Linked DNA regions of Homo sapiens: all the other regions are linked to region 6. The links are contacts of gene promoters, found by promoter capture Hi-C in blood cells and fetal thymus (Javierre and others, 2016). All regions are on one chromosome and are shown on one strand. Each heading gives the region's core, a stretch centred on a gene start or on the middle of the fragment in contact. The rest is flanking DNA. Distances are from core to core; before and after follow the strand shown.

Region 1 (2,720 bases), core at 100-2,599, 290 kb before region 6:
TGAGACCTGACATTGCATTTGAGATGTGTACCAATGACTAGGTTAGAATGTGAGGGCTTATTTTCCATTTTAATAACTCCCTACATCACATACAGTTCCTTTGTTGGGATAAAAATCTCAGTAAAGTACACATCGGTCACTATAAATAGCAGCTACAAGCCTGTACATTCAGGAGAGTCTCCAGAGTGTATTTTAAACCCCACATTGTTTAGAATAGGAAATTCTTCCAATGTTCATATTTTCCATTGTGGGTGACATGGACTACTATCCCATGTCACATCTTCACTGGCTTCTGTTTTCCTGTACCATTTAGGAACTCAACTGACGGTTTCCAGCAGATTGTTCAATATGTGCTTTTTATTTTTCTAAGGGTAGCCTGGGTCTTTTTGTCCAGTGGGAATTTTGCATGCTTCATGGGGCTCTCCAAATAAAAGCTAGATAACTCAGAGCCGGCACCAGCACTAGGTAATGAAAGAGTCCTTTATTTCTGGAGCTAGTAGCACTACTGTGCCCGCTTAGAATAACAGCAGTCAACCCATTTTTTATTCCCACAGAAAACTTTACACTGTTGGAAGGTTTTCTGGAGGTGGGGGGAGACTCAAGAGACTAATATGAAAAATAACTGAGCAAGAAGTGAGCAAATAAACAAGCAGGATGAGATGATGGGTTATCAGGCTGATTCAAAGACAAGAAGCATCATCAGGTCTAATCACACTGCATCTTTCCCAAGGCACAATTGGCAGCTACAGTACATGTATATCTCTGCCCACTTCTTCCTTGAACAATTCTTCTGTTTCTCTCATCAAAACTGTTGTGTAGATCTTGATCTTTTTTTAGTGGAGTTTCATTTGGGGGATCTAACATTCCCTCACTATTTGTCCTTTGATGAAGAAGATGAGAAAGGACCTATTATTAAGGGGCCTCGCGCAAAAGTTGTGATGTAGAAAGAACTGATATCTGACACCTGTCTTTCCTGCTACTACCTTTTAAGATCCTTTAACTCTTCCTATCTAAGCAGGAGAGTGTATTTTCCCTGAGCCAGCATCTTCATAGCATATCCTGGCTACCTAGGGATTATCATTGCTACAGATGCTCAGCGGCTTTTGAACTGAACAGAATGAAGTTTTTTTTAAACTCTAGGTTGAGGCTGGAGAGAAATTCCCAAATCCTTTAGTCCCTAAGTGCCTCATGTCATATAAATGATGTCTCATTGTGGCATTGTCAGAGCTATGGTAGAGCTGAAATCAGAGACATATGCGCTTCAGAAAGGTGTCAGTTTTCCATGAGAACTCTGCCTGAAGTGCAGAATTACTTCTAGAAGACAGATTCTGGTGTCCAGTTGGGTTATGTCATCAGAAATTAACATACACTCTCTTTCCTACGTTCTCTGAAAGGGGGTTGGAAGCCCAAATCATTGGACCCAGGCTTGTAGAGCAACATGTCCAAGAGCACACAGTCAGTGGCAGGGTCAAATCTGGAAACCTTGTCATTTTCTCCAACTCTGGCACTTTTTTTCTTTGCATCGTGTGAGGCCCCACTCTCAATTTATTATCACATTAGAGCTAAATGTCCTCTAACTCCTGCTGAAGAGACTGGCTTTTAAATCAAGGATAAAAGAAAAGACACTGGATAAAAGTTCAGCAGATCAGGGCTTCCTTATCTATAAGAGAGAACTAACACTTCTCAGGGTGGCTGAGAAAATTAAGCAAGATACAGAAAAAATGTCATCGAAAGTATAAAGGGTAATGCGCATGACGTACGTTTATCATGTTGAAGTGCCTGGGTGATTACACTGGATTCACTTCTATATTAACTATATGTAGAGTTGCAGGTTTCATGCTGGTCATGTGCTGTGTTTCAAAGGAATTTTCACACTTCTAACCCTGCTGCCTTATGCTAGCTGACTGGCTGTCAGGTATTCTAGTCTTTCAGAAATCAGATGCTGAGAAAACACAATGAAATAAAATGTCACCTGTCACCCTCCCTAGAGCCCGTCACCTCTGGAGAGGGCTTAGGACCTCAATTGCAGATTAGAAGAACCAAAGCCATTTTATTTTCCCTTTTCCTCTAGTTGTGAATTGAGGAGAAAATGCAGACGATTTAAAATCCTGGCTTTATCCCAATCAGAAGGAAACTGTGCTGTGCTTACGAGGAGAACCCTACTCCCACCTTGGGTCTTACGTCGCACTTTTTACATATGTTAATTATTATCCTCTATTTTATGTTTATTTGTTCTCGTATCTGTTTTCTCCACCAAATTGAAAGCAACCGTAGATCAGAAACTACATCTTACTCACTTTTATTTCCCCAAGACCAGCATACAATGTTGAATGAACACTAACACTTGTGTATCAAGGCACAACTGTGACAAATGTGCTAAGCTACTTGTGAGGGAGGCAGAAATGTTAGTGACACTCGTTGTGTCTTCTAAACACTGACACCATCAATGCCTCTCCTGGGGTTTCATCACTTCTCTGCTGAGCCTTCAAGCCATTGCAATTTCAACTCCATATCTTTTCTCCAGAGAAATGAAGAGATTTATCTCATGTATTTTTTTGATTATTAAGGATAATTGGACCTTTACAACATAGAATTTTGACCACTTATGCTTATTTAGTTGCATTGTGGAGGCAAATGATATTAATATGGTAAGAGTCCATTTCCTTTTGTTGGCCTATTTACTCCGGTACTCAAGCCCTTGGTATATTTGCAATTAGTAT
Region 2 (2,730 bases), core at 105-2,604, 450 kb before region 6:
TTTAAACAATGCAACTGGCTACTATAAAAATTCAACCACTCTCACTGTCTCATAAGATACTAGCTCAGATGCAAGAATTATCACCCAGTGTGTTTAATGAATCAATTAAAAGGCTGAAATTTTGTGAAATTTTGATAGCTCCAGTGGACAAGACTCTGTGTTGCTTGCTTTTGTATTGTAAGTCCATGCAGGCAAATATGAGAAAGATTTATTATTTTCTAAACTCTTGAAATGTACATGACAGAAGAAGAAACTTTTAGATGTTTGAATCAGTTTTTAACACACCATCAAATAAATTGGCAAAAATATAAGCAAAAATATAAATGGACAGAGTGAAAACAATGTCAGGGAAAAAACTCAGCCAGAAGGGTTCATGTCAACACCATGACCAAAGTGAGTTCAAATATTCATGGCAGGTAGAGTGGATGTGAGCTAGTTATTAAAAAGATGACAGCATCTTTCAAAACTACATTGCACCATGCCTTGCAAATTATCAGTTTTATTAAGGAATAGTATTTATACTGTAGACTTTGATGTGTGATATGGATTATGTGAATAGTGAGTTCTAGAATTTACCTTTTTCACACCAAAGACCAATGCCAAATGAGATAAGAAATCACTGGTCTTCGATTTTTTGTGGTTATTGTTGTTGGTAAACAAGCTCCATTACCATACTATCTCTCAAATATAACAAGGTTTGACCACTGAAGCTTTATATATATACTTATCTTAGACTCTGTCTATCTATCTATCATCTATCTATCTGTCTATAATATATTTAATTTTTAGGACGGTATATTTTTACAGAATAATTGAGCAGAAAGTACAGTGAGTTCCGTCTCTTTCCCCCACCTCAACACACACAGTTTCCCCTAGTGTTAACATCTGACATTAGTGTGGTACACTTGTTAAAACTGATTAATCAAAACCAATAATGCTATTATGAACTAAAATCCATGGTTTAGGGTAGGGTTCATTCTGTGTTGCATAGGTCTATGTGTTTTGACAAATGTATAATGTCATGTATCTGCCATAACAGTGCCATACATAATGGTGTCACCACCCAAAGGACCACTGTAGTTTTAATAAGCTGAAAAAGCCCAATTGGAAAAGCAGAGTGACCTTGGTACCTTGCTTACAATGGCCAAGAAAGCACCAGGAATGAAATCGGAACACATTTCAGTTTCATTCAACACATCGCATTTCATGCAATACCAACTAAATGTACCTGCTTTGATCCTGAGAATGAAGGAAAATAAGGGGATAGAAGGTGGCCAGGCAGAAGGAATGGTGTGATGCAGAGAAAGCACTGGAATCCAGCTGCACTTGGCTGCTCAGACTGGAGCATTCGCCCGCCTCCCTGTGCTCAGGCTCCGGGTCCATAAAGTCAAAGTGAGGAGTTTGACTCCATGATAGGGAAGGCCCTGCCAGCTCCACTTGAAAGAAGGCACAATTATTATAACCAGGGCTTGTATATGTTTAATGGATTGGTAAACATTTTCCTTAAGCCCCAGGATTTTTTTGTGTGTGCCAATTGCCTTTGGAGATTTCAAGAATTAAAAAACAAATGACTAAGAAAACATAAATATGGAGACATATATTTCCGATTTTTAGCTTCTTAGTAAATAACTTGCTTGGACTACAGCTAAAACAAAGAGAAAATGCTAGCAATATAGATGGTTTCTAGATAAAAGAACATTCTTCTTGTCATGGAAAAAAAACAATACTAACTATGTGAATGCTTCCAGAAGGTAGAATTTTCATTTGGTACCTATTTTTCTTTTTCCCTTTTGTTTTTAAACACAGAATCAATCTAAAGTTGGTTCATGGTAAGAGAAGAAAAATGGGAGAGCAGTTTTTTTATAAGTGCCTGTGGATTTATTCTGAAACCCTAAGTTCTAGATTGAAAACATTTTTTTAAATCCTCCTCTTGGGAAAGAAGATGAAATCCAAAGGATTGTGTGAATTTACACTATTAATAATAGCTACCATTTATTGTAAGCTTGATGTCATAAGCACTTTACATGGATTATAACATTCTATCCACTCATCAATCTTATGAAGTAGACACTGTTATTATCTCCATTTTACAGACATGACAAAAAGGCACAGAGAAGTTAAATAGCTTGCCCAAGGTCACTCTGTGGTGGTTAAGCTGGGATTTGAGCCGAGGCAGGTTGACTTCTGAACCTGAGTTTTTAATCACTAAACTCAACTGCTATAAATTACATACTTATATTTATTTGTATACATGTGTTTATTTAATGGGAAAAAAATGTTTCATATAATGATGTATCTGAGATGGGAGCAGAGACAAGTAGTAAAATACAGATGATTTATAAAAGGCTTGTTATGCATTAAAAATGCATAAAACCTGGCCTCAGCTGTTTTAAAATTAGAGTAAATTACTGTACAAATTTCTGTTGCAATCAGAAGACGTTGGCTACTGCTGTTGTTGTGAATAATAAAATTCTTTGTCTCTGACCCAGAAGTCTCATGTCTTATACTGGTTGCTAGTTTTCAAGAAGGGTAAAATCTAAGACCCTTAGCAGTTCTTGACAACTGTTTCTGGAGTTTTTATTTCCCCAAAATATTGTCACTATTGCTTAGATGTCATACCTAGATGAATAACACTTGCCAAATAAATTTTTGAGTCAAGTTGAATGAAATAATTACCTTTTACTGGGAACCTATCAGTGGTTCTCACCCATGCTAGCCTCATGACTACTG
Region 3 (3,142 bases), core at 306-2,805, 470 kb before region 6:
GTAATTTCAAGGGTAGAAGTTGGACACACTCATGTTTACCAGGGAGGTCAGTGTCTAAACTGAAAGGAGACAGGGAGGTGTGACTGGCAGCCTCAGGCACTGGGCAGGGCATGCACAGAACCCCGCCTCTGTTCGAGGGGGGTTGGGGAGGGGACCTGCAACGAGTGGCTTGTTCTATCCTGAACAAGGGTTTTACCCCAGGAAGGGGCCTTAAAGATCTCTGCCTCCAACCTCCTAGTTTTTTTTCTTTTAATTTTAAATATGTAAAATTTTAATACCATGAGAGATACCTTTTTTTTTTTTTTTTTTTTGAGATGGAGTCTCGCTCTGTCGCCCAGACTGGAGTGCAGTGGCACGATCTTGGCTCACTTCAAGCTCTGTCTCCAGGGTTCACGCCATTCTCCTGCCTCAGCCTCCCGAGTAGCTGGGACTACAGGCGCCTCCCACCACGCCCAGCTAAATTTTTTTTGTATTTTTAGTAGAGACGGAGTTTCACCGTGTTAGCCAGAATGGTCTCGATCTCCTGACCTCGTGATGCACCCGCCTCGGGCTCTCAAAGTGCTGGGATTACAGGCGTGAGCCTCCGCGCCCAGCCGAGAGATACTTTTTTAAAGAATAAAATGCTTCCATCAACTCAGATTCTTTGTTTTTGCTACTTAAATCAAGAGACTTTGTAGAGACCTGTTTTTCATGTCACACCAGCATGGCACATGTATACATATGTAACTAACCTGCACAATGTGCACATGTACCCTAAAACTTAAAGTATAATAAAAAAAAAAAAGAAAAAAAAAACCAATATGGTCAGTACTGGTCACATTCTAGCGTCTAGAAATCAAACAAATCACATCGAGAAGCACTGATTGAGCACCATGTATGTGCCCAACACAAGGAAAATTGCCAAGTAGTGTATCCCTACAGTGGTTTGTAAACTTTCTACTTGGAATCATTTTAGCTTAGGAGGAGTTAAAACATGAGTCTAGAGGGTGGATATGTGCTCTTCACCCTGCTTTCCCCAATGATGACCTCATACATAACCATAATACATATATTATTGAAATTGGAAAATAACCCTCTACTTTTACAGATGAAAGAATGCACACTCAGGGAGGCCAGGTGACTTGCCCCAGGGCACACAGTGAGTGAGGTAAGTTGGTGTCCCCCAGGCAGGCACACCCTGGTTGGTAATATCAAGGCTTTGTTTGAGTCCAGTTTCTGCCACGGATGAGCTGAGTGACATTAGACAATTTCCTTAAACTCATCTGTGAAATGGAGACAATAATAGTGCTTTCCTTGGGGGATTGTTCTGGGGACTAGGAAAAGGTGTGTGCAAGATTCTTGGCACAGTGCCTAAGGTGTAACAAGAATCCACCTGCATTGGAGGCTTGCTTTGTTCCGGTCATTGGTCTGGGTGCTTTATATGTTACACTATTTATTGCAACAACCCTGGAACCCATCATTATCAATTATTTTACCAATGGGAAAACTGAGGCACAAAGAAGTCAAAGGCTTAGTGAGGGGCAGAGATGGGGCCCAAAGTTGGGCTGAGTTGTGGAGCTCCTTGGCCTACCTTGGTCGAGGCTGAATGAACAGTGCTGCTGCAGTTGCCGTAAGCATGTTGCATCTCACCTGGATGCTCTGGCTTGCTGTGGTGGCTTCTCTTGAGCCATCTCTCTAGTGGCATCTGTGCATGAGTTTGGCTGCATGTGCAAACTCAGGACATTTAACTTTGGACCACCGTGAACTTTGTGGCTAACCAGATACTGCACTGACTTTACTCAACTCTTGGGCCTTTCAGGAGCTCAGTAATTATCCATTATGAGGCTCCTCACCTGCCCATCACTAGAAACTCCTTTCATTACCTCTTTTTCTCCACCTTTTGTGCCTCCTTTGTTTTAAAAGACTTTGCTATCGAACAACCTGCATTTTAAAATTAGTTTATCCATGCTTCCATTTTTAAAAAGTTATTCCAAGATATGTGCAATTGCCAATTAGAGATATTGGGCAGCAAAAGATAACCAACCCCATCAAACTTGGTTAACAGAATTCTAGCCCAAAGCAAACAAAATTTGACATTTTAACGAGACTGTGCAGGCTTAGCAGGCAGGGGTAGGACTTCAATGTGACTTTTAAAATACTGAAAATAGTTGGAGGACTCCTAAGGGTTTAGGAATCCCAGGGACTTAATCCAGTCCCCAAAGATTCTAAAGATTCCAGAAAATCCTCCATAAAACATAAATACCCTTTATTATATGTGCTTTATGTTGGCCTAAATCCCTTTTTAAATATCTTAATCTCATTCTACCTTACAGTTTGATATTTACATGAGAGTCTCTAAAATACAAGGAAATCCAATTGCATTAAAATATTTCTATGCACATATGGTACCCAGGTGCATAATAAAGGTAGACATCATTATCTTAAAAAGAGTGGCATGCAGTTTCTTCCCTGGTTATTCAATCTCTATCTACTCATATACTTTCCAGCATTTTCCCTCTCCCGTCCAGCCTTCAGCCCTACTTGCCGTCTTCCTTTTCCTTGCTATTAAGTTGGTGGTTCACTAAACTCTTACTAAACATGTGCTGTATTACTCCATGTTTTCCAGAGAAACAGAATCAACAAGATATTGATTCAATATATACACATATATATTTGGACATATACATATATATGGAGAGAGACAGAAAGATAGAGAGACAGAGATTGATTCATTTTAAAAGAAAGTGTGGGAACTGCAAGTCTGAAATTTGCAGGCCCAGACCAGCAGGCTGGAAGTTCTGGCAAGAGGTGACATTGCAGACTTGAGTCTGGAGGCAGAATTCCTTCCCCTTTGTAGGGCCTCAGTCTTTTCTCTTAAGGCCTCCAGCTGATTGGATGAGCGTCACCCACATGATGTATGGTAATCTACTCAAAGTCAACTCACTTAAATATCAATTATATCTTTTAAAATACCTTCTCTGCAACATCTAGGCTGATGTTTGACCAAACAACAGTGCATGACGTTTGTTGTGCCCCCAAACTGACACATAAAATCAACCATCACATGTACAGGCACTGTATTAAGCACTAGGGTGTAAAGATAAATATGACCCTGTCCTTAATCTTGAGGAGTTGATGATCAAATGGAGAAGGAAAGGCAGAA
Region 4 (2,843 bases), core at 332-2,831, 350 kb before region 6:
CTTGCTAAGAGCTTCTACAAGACTACCTTAAAAGAAGACTTATATTTAACAAACAGAATCTCAACATATGGACATACACCCTCTTGAGCTGGTTAGAAAGGACTTTTTTCTTTATTTGCTCTTTTTGACCACTGACATTTATTTTAATTTTTTTCATTTTTAAACATTTTTATTTTGAAATAAAGTAAAAGATTAACAGGAAGTTACAAAATAGTATAGAAAGGTCCCAGGTACCCAGTTTTCCCCAGTAGTAACATCTTGCATAACTACAGTGCAATACCAAAACCCAAGAAATTGACATTCGTGTGATTCACAACGTTATTCAGGTAAGAAGGTCTTTTTAAAACAAGAAATAATTCATTACAACCACGGGGTTCCTCTAAAAACTGTCCCTTTAACTGAAGAACACCTGATTGTTTGTTGTTTATTCAGTACTTCTCCACATTTTGCAGAGGCACACAAAATCATTTTTATAAATCCCAACCTATGAAGGACAGAACAAAGTCATTGTTCTATTTTTCAAAGTATACAAAAGCTAAACGAGAAAAAAATCATCTGGGAAGGCAGAAATCCATTGGTGCAAAGTTTTTAGAAAGCTAAGTGAAGTAGTAATTATCTTACTCATTCCATTATTGAAGACCTCTTCAAAATTTTATTCATTTACAATAAAATTTCAATAAATTCAATTCCATTCTATTACAATAAAATTTCCCCATATATTTCTAAAAAGTCACAGTTTTGTGGCAACAAGATTTAGAATTTTCAAACAATACTTTTTGTCACACTTGCCGTCAGCCCATTTTGTTATAACCTCATCTGTAATAAACCCAAAAGAGTTTACTCTTTTTCTTTATTTCTTGGTTAACTGTTTTTGAGTTTTATATGCACAGATAGCATTCCTTGAAGAAAGAGGCAAGGTATACATACACACAGTTGGGTTGCTATTTTTTTTCTTACAATGTATTTATACTGTTGTCAATTTAAAGACCAAAATATTCTCAGGAAAATACAATATTTTACTTTTTAAGCTTCATATTCTATGAGTAATAAATTTAGTTTTGAGGGATAAGATAGCAAACCATAAATATGGAAGCACTCTCTTAAGGTCAACATTAAATCTGATAATATGTAGAATAGATTTAAGACTATTTCGAAGTTTCAACTAGAGTTTCACCCAGTGTGCTTTCTTCTTAGGTTTTAATGCTGGTTTACAAAAGGAAAAGTAAATTGCTTTCTGGTAACAAATTATTGCAGAAGATCTTCTACTTAAAGCATAGATGCATTTTTATTTTTCATTTACTTCTCTGTTTTTGAAGGGTTCAGTGTTTATTCGGCGGAGGTTTATGTCAATTATTTAATCAGAAGCAGGCCCCAGAGTTTGCCAGTGATATTTTGGAATGTAGGGTCTACTTCAAAGAAAGGTTCCATGTCTCTTGACCCAGATGAAGCCAATTTTTCATAGTGAAGAGCAAGGTAATTCGATTTTCTTTTTCAGAGCAAAAATTATTTTTAGACTGAATTTGATGGGTCATATTTCTCTGCTCAGTAAATCTTGCAATTATCACTCCACACTGGAAAATGTAACTCAATGACCCACCATTGCGCCAGAGCTTCTGTGGGCAGCCGAGCTCCGAGAGGCAGCTGGACATGATGTGAAGTTGGTGTCTATGACATACTGCAAGATGGAAACCAAGCAGTCAACCAGTGGCAGTAGTTCACATGCCAACATTTTTGTTTATTTGTAATGGAAAACTTTAGGAGGAAAACACAGGAGACTGGGTGCCATGGGTGTGAGGTAGAGATTTCAATCCTGTTCAGTCACAGGAAAATCCAAATTGGCCACGCTAAACCAGATCCAAAATCCCAGACTAATTTCCTCTCCTCTTTCCTCTGCGAGTGTTTCTGATTTCACACAAGGCAAGAGCAACTGAGAACAGGGAGCCTGACTAGATGAAGTAAGAACCGTCGTGAGGCCCAGGAGCAAGAAAAAAAGGCCTGGAGTTGTAGAACATGCTAGAACATGAATGACAGTCTCTGCGGAATTAAGAAGCATTCTCCACTCTATTCCATGGCCTCTTGCTGACCTAACTCCTAGTCTTCCTTCACATCTCACCTTAGGATACCACTTCCTAAGGAAAGCTTAACAGACTCAAGTTTGACTTATTACCTTTCTCTGTGCCCTGACAATTCCTGATACCCTCTCCAGAGCAGGGTTATCACACCACATTGTAATATTTAATATTGACATCCCTACTGGACTGCAAGCCTAATAGAACTTGGGCCATACCGCTCAAGTTTACAATTGCATGCTTTTTGCTTAGCACTGTGTCTAGCACACAGGAAATGCTTAATATGTATGCGTTGTTTATGTTATCCATGCCTTAATGTTTGGGATGCTCCAGATGGCTTAATAAAGTGTTTAACTATCTTTACAACCTCAACCCAGTCCAATGTATTGAAATCATCTCTACCAAGCTTTGGGAAATTCAATCAGCATCTAAGAAGCCCTTGTAAAAAACATTTTAGTACCCAATGATGACTATACGTAAACCCTCTAGCTCCTGACCCAGATGTGATGGCACGTGCCTGTGGTCCCAGCTACTTGGGAGGCTGAGGCAGGAGGAATGCTTGAGCCCAGAAGTTCAAAGCTGTAGTGAGCTATGATTGTGCCACTGCACTCCATCCTAGGCAACATAGTGACAATCCCATCTCAAAAACAAAACAAACAAACAAACAAACAAACAAAACCCTGGTTTTAAGAAAACAATGAAGATAGCCATGAAAATACACACTGGCCTATAAATGTATATGCTAAAAGAGAATGGAAACTGAAATAATGGATC
Region 5 (3,160 bases), core at 140-2,639, 430 kb before region 6:
ATCAGTTCACACGCTAACTTGCTTGGTTTCATTCTTTCTCTTTCTGTGATTTCCCCTTCTTTCTGTGATCTTAGTTTTGCATAAAAAATTGTTTTGTTATATTTGATCCTCAAATCCTAGGCATACACAAAAGGCAGAGTTTCCCAGTGATTTCAGCCTGCCATCTCATCAGAATTAGAGGTTCTTTCATCTACGCTTTATGTTTTCTTCAGTTTGACTGTGAGATTTTCTGGCTTAACAATTGTTGACAGCCCACGTGTTGCGTGTGGAATAGTCTAAATTCCCTGTCCTTGCATTTAAGGTCATCTATTATCTGGCCTCCAATTAAATATATTTTCTAGTAGTTTTAGTGAAGATTTTGATTGTTCGCTGTTGAAAATTCTTATTAACAAATTAGATGAGAGCTGTCTGGTATATAAAACTGTCAGATGGATCCTCAACTATAGGACCAGCATCGCGGCATGTCAAGATAATTTTAATCTTGATTCTGTCAACTCTGTTATGTCTCTTTTAAAGTCCCCTCTAGACTTGTGTCATTGCACATTTGATCAGCATACCTACTGCTTCCTCATTCAAGGTACTGATACAAATGTTGGCCAAAAGGAGTCTAAGAGAATAGCGCAACAGTTCAATTGCAGAGCCCTGGGCAGACTTAATTGTGTCCACTAATCATTTTGGGTATGATTGTTCAAGTAGTTTTGAATTCATTCTGAAGTTTTGAATTCTTACCATGTGCAAGTGTTTTTATTTATTTTAGGATTCGTTGTATCAATCCACAACTTAGCACATGTCCTGGTCTCGACAGGCACTCAATGCCTGCTGCTTAAGTTTAATTATGGAGGGAACATTGGTGACTGGACTTCAAGTCATAGAAGCAACGTAAGTGGGGCAGAGCTTTACTTTGAATGGTTTTTGGAGCTTGTCTGTTTTCTATAGTGGGAAACAAGCAAAAACTATATGGAAGAGATCAGCCCACACAATGTGACACAAATGGGCACAAACAAAAGGGATTTAGCAACGGACAAAATGGACCAAGATAGTCTCTTAAGCCTAGCAATTGTACAGTTCTGTGACTTATCCAAGGTTACATTTACCCAATAAATGATGGACCTGGAATTAGAACCTAGGTCTTATCACTTCTGATCCATCAACCCCCTATACTGTCAGGTTTAATACCATACTTAACATGAAATAGCATGTGAGTCCCACCTAAACTATGTTTTCTATCTGTTTTTAAGCCAAGCTTGCTGTTCACTTTCTGGTTTTGCTGGGCATATACATGAAATGCACTTCCCAGCCTCCCGTGCAGGTAGGGTGGTCACGTGACTGATGTGCACTACTCCCAGGCCTGGACCATAAAAACATTCCACATGCCATCATCTGTCTCCTTTCCCCATTAACTGCTGACTTCCTAGAACTGCAAAGAACAAGAGGAGAAGGAAGCCACTAAATAGAAGAAATTAGATTTCCTTAATGACACATGGAAGGCAGCCTGTCAATCAGGATCACTTCATGTGACTTCACGTGAGTGAGAAATAAGCTTCCGTTGTCTTAAGCCACTGAGATTTTGGAGGCTCTTTGTTGAGGCAGGCAAATATTCTAGCAAATGCACCTTCAAACTAAAGCCTCAAATTGGAGTCCAAGAGTAACAATCAAATGGCATAATTTTATTCTTAAGTCACCTATTAAATGATGTCCACTACATTCTTCACTGATAATCTAGATGTAGAAATTGATATTCTTATAAAATTTAAGGGAGATACAAGCATTTCAGGAACATTTCAGATAAAATAATCTTCAAGAATGTCATAGACCCAGTGTAACTTCATATCAGCAAGGTATTTTGAATAAAATGATGAAATAGGGATACCTCTCAATGAATTTAAAACTACTTGAACAATCATACCCAAAATGATTAGTGGACACAATTAAGTATGCTGAGGGCTCTGCAATTGAACTGTTGGACTATTCTCTTAGCCTCATTTTGGTCAACATTTGAATCAGTGCCTTGAATGAGGAAGTAGTAGGTATGCTGATCAAATATGCAATGACACAAGTCTGGAGGGGATTAAAAAAAAAGACATAAGAGAGTTGACAGAATCAAGATTTAGAATTATCTTGACATGCTGCAATGCTGGGCCAAGACTAAAAACACAAAATGTAATAAGGATAAATGCAAAGTCTTATTTTTAGGTCCAAAAAAGAATTATAGGGATACAGGATGGAGAACATGCAACTTGGCAGCAGTTGATGTGAAAAGGCCCTGGGGGTCTTGTTTGACCAAAAGCTTCATGTGAGCCAACAGTGTGATATGGCTCCACAAACTTACTGCATTAATGGAAGCATTGTGTGATGATCGTGAGAAGCGTTAGGCTCTGTGCTCCTCACATGGAATCTGGGACATTATTTTTAAATTCTGTGTACATTGGAACAGTGACAAACTAGAGACTACGCAGAGGAGGTGATGAGGATTGTGAATAAAGATGTCTCCTGGTTCTGCACCCAAGGCATACTGCTGGTAACCTTTTTCGTGCTGCACTACTCCTCCAGCTTTGTTCTATGGTCTGTCTTCTCCACTAGACTGCAAGCTCATTAGCAAAGGGATAATAATAGCAATACCACCAACAATGGTTGGAGTTAGCATTTATTGGATTCTTACCATGTGCAAGGCACTTCTCTAAATGCTTTACACATGGATCTTATTCAATCTTCACAGCAATTCTATGAAATTATTCTACTAGTGTCCCCATTTTATGGATGAATTGAGGCATAGCGAGGTTAGGTACCTTAGTAAATCTGGGGGTCAGGGCACAAAAATCAGTCATTTGGACTCTAGGACTGATACTCCTATCCCACATGCTATCTGCCCATTTGAGCTTTGTATTATTAGTCCATTCTCACACTGCCATAAGGACACATCTGAGACTGGGTGATTTATAAAGGAAAGAGGTTTAATTGACTCACAGTTCCATAAGGCTGGGGAGGCCTCAGGAAACTTACAGTTATGGTGGAAAGGGAAGCAAATACGTCCTTCTTCACATGGCAGCAGTAAGGAGAAGTGAAGAGGGGGAAAAGCCCCTTATAAAACTATCGGATCTTGTGAGAACTCATTATCACAAGACCAGCATGGAGGTAACCACCCCCATTATTCAATTACCTC
Region 6 (2,892 bases), core at 130-2,629:
ACGGAAGGAGGCGGAGGCCCCTAATGTTCCTTCTCATTACCACCCCAAATGCCACTGTCCTCTGGGTGCCCAGCCCATTCAATCCCTAAAATACCTCTTAATGGCCTCTCCCTCATCTGGCCAACTCGATTTCTCTACTCTTCTATGGTGGCTCAGTTAAATGAAACTGAGGGCATTTTATTTCACAATAAAGTCTCATTGGCCAACACGCCGCCCTTAAGCTAAAGATACTTCTGATTGGTCAAACTTGAAGCAGCAATAGGGGCCCGGAGGCATTAACTGTGCCAGTCTGTAGATTCTGAAGCCCACGCCAGCCTCTGATCTAGTTTGGCCTCTCTTTTCCCTATCCCAATTGTTCTGCCTCCACTCAGCAGTCCTGGAGCTCAGTCCTCACCCAGAGAGATGGAGTTGTGACTCAGAGGGCCTAGGTCTCTACCTTCCACTTAGGAATCAAGCCAGAAGCTCCTGAAGCGGAGGTTTGCCCAAAAAAAAGAGTAGTCAGCGATAGTCCTCTCTGAATCATAATTTGATAATGCATTGCTCATCCAGATGGCTGTTTACAATTTAAGAAAAAATATTACCAGGCCCTCCTCCTAACCTGCCCGGCCATGGGGCACACCTTTGCCAATGCACCTTCATTTCTGTCAAAACTCAGTGATATTAGTGACTCCTACCCCCTAAGGCGCCTCCCAAGCGCAATGCTGCAGTCTGTGCGGACAAATTTAGTTCACCCTGGGGTGCCTATTAAGTACATTTCGCAAACGAGGAACTGAGACTTAGTTAACTTGCAGAAGATCACAGAAAAGTTTGAAATCAGCTGGTTGGATTCGCAGCCAGGTCCTGCAGACTCCAGACCCCGCGCCTCCCCGCCCTACTTCTGGGCCCCAAGAGCAGGCCGCGGCAACTTCCAGAAGCCGGGTCTCTGGGGCACCGCGCTCGCGGACCGACCTCAGTCCCATCCCAGCCGCTCCCTGCCTGGGCAGAATGGGGGCCCCGCGGGAACGCGATGTGCTGCCAGTTCACAGCCCGCCCTCCCTCTGCGGGCCGGTACCCGCCGCTGGCGGCGCCGACCTGTGGGAGGCCCAGAGGGCGGGTGAGTGCGGAGCGGAAGGCGCGGGCGAAGCACCGCAGGGGCCTCGCTGACCCCGCCACACGCCGGGCAGGGCTGCAACGGCTCCTTCCGACTGGAGCGGCCGCGCGCTCCTCCGGCCGGCTACTGGCTTCCCTGCTCTCAGGTTCCCGTCTCCGGCTCTCGTGCCCCTTCTTAGCTTCCAGAGCGGAGCCGGGAGGCAAATTCCAAGCGGTTGTGGGACCCACGCCTCACCCGGAACTTTAAGCCCTGCCGTCTCGCCTGGCGCCCAAACTCTGCGGACCTCCACTGGCCGCCCGCCTCTTCCGGCCCCGCGCGCTCCGGGGTCCCGCGGGCTCCCGGCCTCGGGACACTTCCGGTCTTGGGGAACTCCCGGCCCCCTCGCAGTCCCGGCGCCCGGGACACTTCCGGCTCCCGGCAGCTGCCTCAGTCGGAGGTCCGCGGGCGCCCCATGCTGGCAGTGGTAATGCCGCCGGCTGGCATCCGGTTGGCTGCGCGCTGGGAACGCCAGCGAGGCAGCGCCACCGGCTTGAGGAGGGTGAAAGTTCAATTCTTGGCCCCTGAAGTTAGCGGAAGGGAACGGGCATGTTTTGGAAAGGCCCGCCGGGAATTCCCTCAGAAACCAGGCGAAGCTCCCTGCTGGGCCAGGCCCCCCTCGTGTGCTTGAGGAGGATGGGAGCCCGGCCTCGGTTTGTTATCCTAATTAAGTGGAAAATTAAGAAAATAATAGAATAGCGTAAGTACTAATAGTAAAATTATAGTAAGAGAAATAACAATAGCTAGAATGGAATGAATTGCTGTATTAACCAAGGCTAGAAAGAATTTCAGCCCTCCGAAAGTTAAAGCGAGGGAAGAGAGAGACCCTCTCATATTGTTTTATACTCAGTACCTGTTTTTTTTTTTTTTTTTAAAAAAAAAAGGAAGTGAAATCAAAGACAGGCAGCCCAGCGCCAGGCCCAAAACTGGACCTGGGCCTGCCTGGCCTAAACCTAGTAGTTAAAAATCAACTCATGACTTAGAAACCGATGTTATTCATAGATTCCAGACATTCTATAGAAGAACATTGTGAAACTCCCTGCCCTGTTCTGTTTCTCCCTGACCATCGGTGCATGCAGCCCCTGTCACGTACCCCTTGCTTGCTCAAATCAATCACGACCCTTTCATGTGAAATTTTAGTGTTGTGAGCTCTTAAAAGCGACAGAAATTGTGCACTCGGGGAGCTCGGATTTTAAGGCAGTAGCTTGCCAATGCTCCCAGCTGAATAAAGCCCTTTCTTCTACAGCTCCGTGTCTGAGAGGTTTTGTCTGTGGCTTGTCCTGCTACAGTCCTTGGTTCCCTGACCAGGAAGCGAGGTGACTGACAAGCCCTGTGGAGCGTCCCTGCAGAGGACTCCGGCCAGCCTGACTGACGCAATCCAAAGAGCGCTCCCGGGTAGGAAATGGCCCCGGTGGAATGCCTTGCCAGAGCAGCGCATAGCAGGCTCCCGAGAAGGATTAACACTGGCTGAACACCGGGAAGGAACTGGCACTTGAAGTCCAGACATCTGAAGCTTGTCAAGACTAGTTTTTGGAACTTGCCCCACTCCATGTGAGTGGAAGCATGGCCTGATCACCCACGGTGTGCCTGTATTGACATCTTTGTTCTGGTTTTGACTTGGCTTGACTTGGTAAGACTAGTCTTTGGAACTTGCCCCACTCCACGTGAGTGGAAGCGTGGCCTGATCACCCACGGTGTGCCTGTATTGGCACTTTTGTTCTGGTTTTGACTTGGCTTGACTTGGTAAGACTAGTCTTTGGAACTTG

What was found. Contacts are between HindIII fragments. The CHiCAGO score rates a contact against its expected background, and 5 or more counts as called.
Region 1: a contact is called between a fragment that was not itself captured here and the fragment with the promoter of CYREN in region 6, in 1 of 17 cell types (non-activated CD4 T cells). The highest score is 5.3, in non-activated CD4 T cells.
Region 2: a fragment that was not itself captured here is called in contact with the fragment with the promoter of CYREN in region 6 in 4 of 17 cell types (non-activated CD4 T cells, naive CD8 T cells, endothelial precursors and 1 more); the score reaches 6.0 in non-activated CD4 T cells.
Region 3: a contact is called between a fragment that was not itself captured here and the fragment with the promoter of CYREN in region 6, in 2 of 17 cell types (naive CD4 T cells and endothelial precursors). The highest score is 6.1, in naive CD4 T cells.
Region 4: a fragment that was not itself captured here is called in contact with the fragment with the promoter of CYREN in region 6 in 1 of 17 cell types (naive CD8 T cells); the score reaches 6.0 in naive CD8 T cells.
Region 5: a contact is called between a fragment that was not itself captured here and the fragment with the promoter of CYREN in region 6, in 1 of 17 cell types (M1 macrophages). The highest score is 6.3, in M1 macrophages.

What each region holds. Positions count from the first base shown.
Region 1 is chr7:134,879,796-134,882,515 of GRCh38, forward strand. All of the region lies in intron 3 of CALD1 (caldesmon 1), which reads left to right. Among named protein-coding and RNA genes, the nearest start is that of CALD1, 100 kb to the left of the region's middle. The HindIII fragment of the contact is 2,955 bases long and covers 1-2,720 here.
Region 2 is chr7:134,716,268-134,718,997 of GRCh38, forward strand. All of the region lies in intron 1 of LOC124901750 (a long non-coding RNA gene), which reads right to left. It also overlaps a transcript of CALD1 not described here. Among named protein-coding and RNA genes, the nearest start is that of CALD1, 62 kb to the right of the region's middle. The HindIII fragment of the contact is 1,292 bases long and covers 709-2,000 here.
Region 3 is chr7:134,696,372-134,699,513 of GRCh38, forward strand. The region is part of intron 1 of LOC124901750 (a long non-coding RNA gene); the gene reads right to left. Among named protein-coding and RNA genes, the nearest start is that of BPGM, 51 kb to the left of the region's middle. The HindIII fragment of the contact is 3,866 bases long and covers 1-3,142 here.
Region 4 is chr7:134,817,165-134,820,007 of GRCh38, forward strand. The region is part of intron 1 of CALD1 (caldesmon 1); the gene reads left to right. LOC124901750 (a long non-coding RNA gene) reads right to left here. Exons shown (of 2, transcript XR_007060537.1): 1 at 1-2,843. Among named protein-coding and RNA genes, the nearest start is that of CALD1, 39 kb to the left of the region's middle. The HindIII fragment of the contact is 1,111 bases long and covers 1,027-2,137 here.
Region 5 is chr7:134,738,231-134,741,390 of GRCh38, forward strand. All of the region lies in intron 1 of LOC124901750 (a long non-coding RNA gene), which reads right to left. It also overlaps a transcript of CALD1 not described here. Among named protein-coding and RNA genes, the nearest start is that of CALD1, 40 kb to the right of the region's middle. The HindIII fragment of the contact is 297 bases long and covers 1,242-1,538 here.
Region 6 is chr7:135,169,328-135,172,219 of GRCh38, forward strand. CYREN (cell cycle regulator of NHEJ) reads right to left here and starts at 1,380. Exons shown (of 4, transcript NM_024033.4): 1 at 1,325-1,380. RefSeq lists a silencer at 911-1,520 and an enhancer at 1,901-2,120. The HindIII fragment of the contact is 3,007 bases long and covers 1-2,637 here.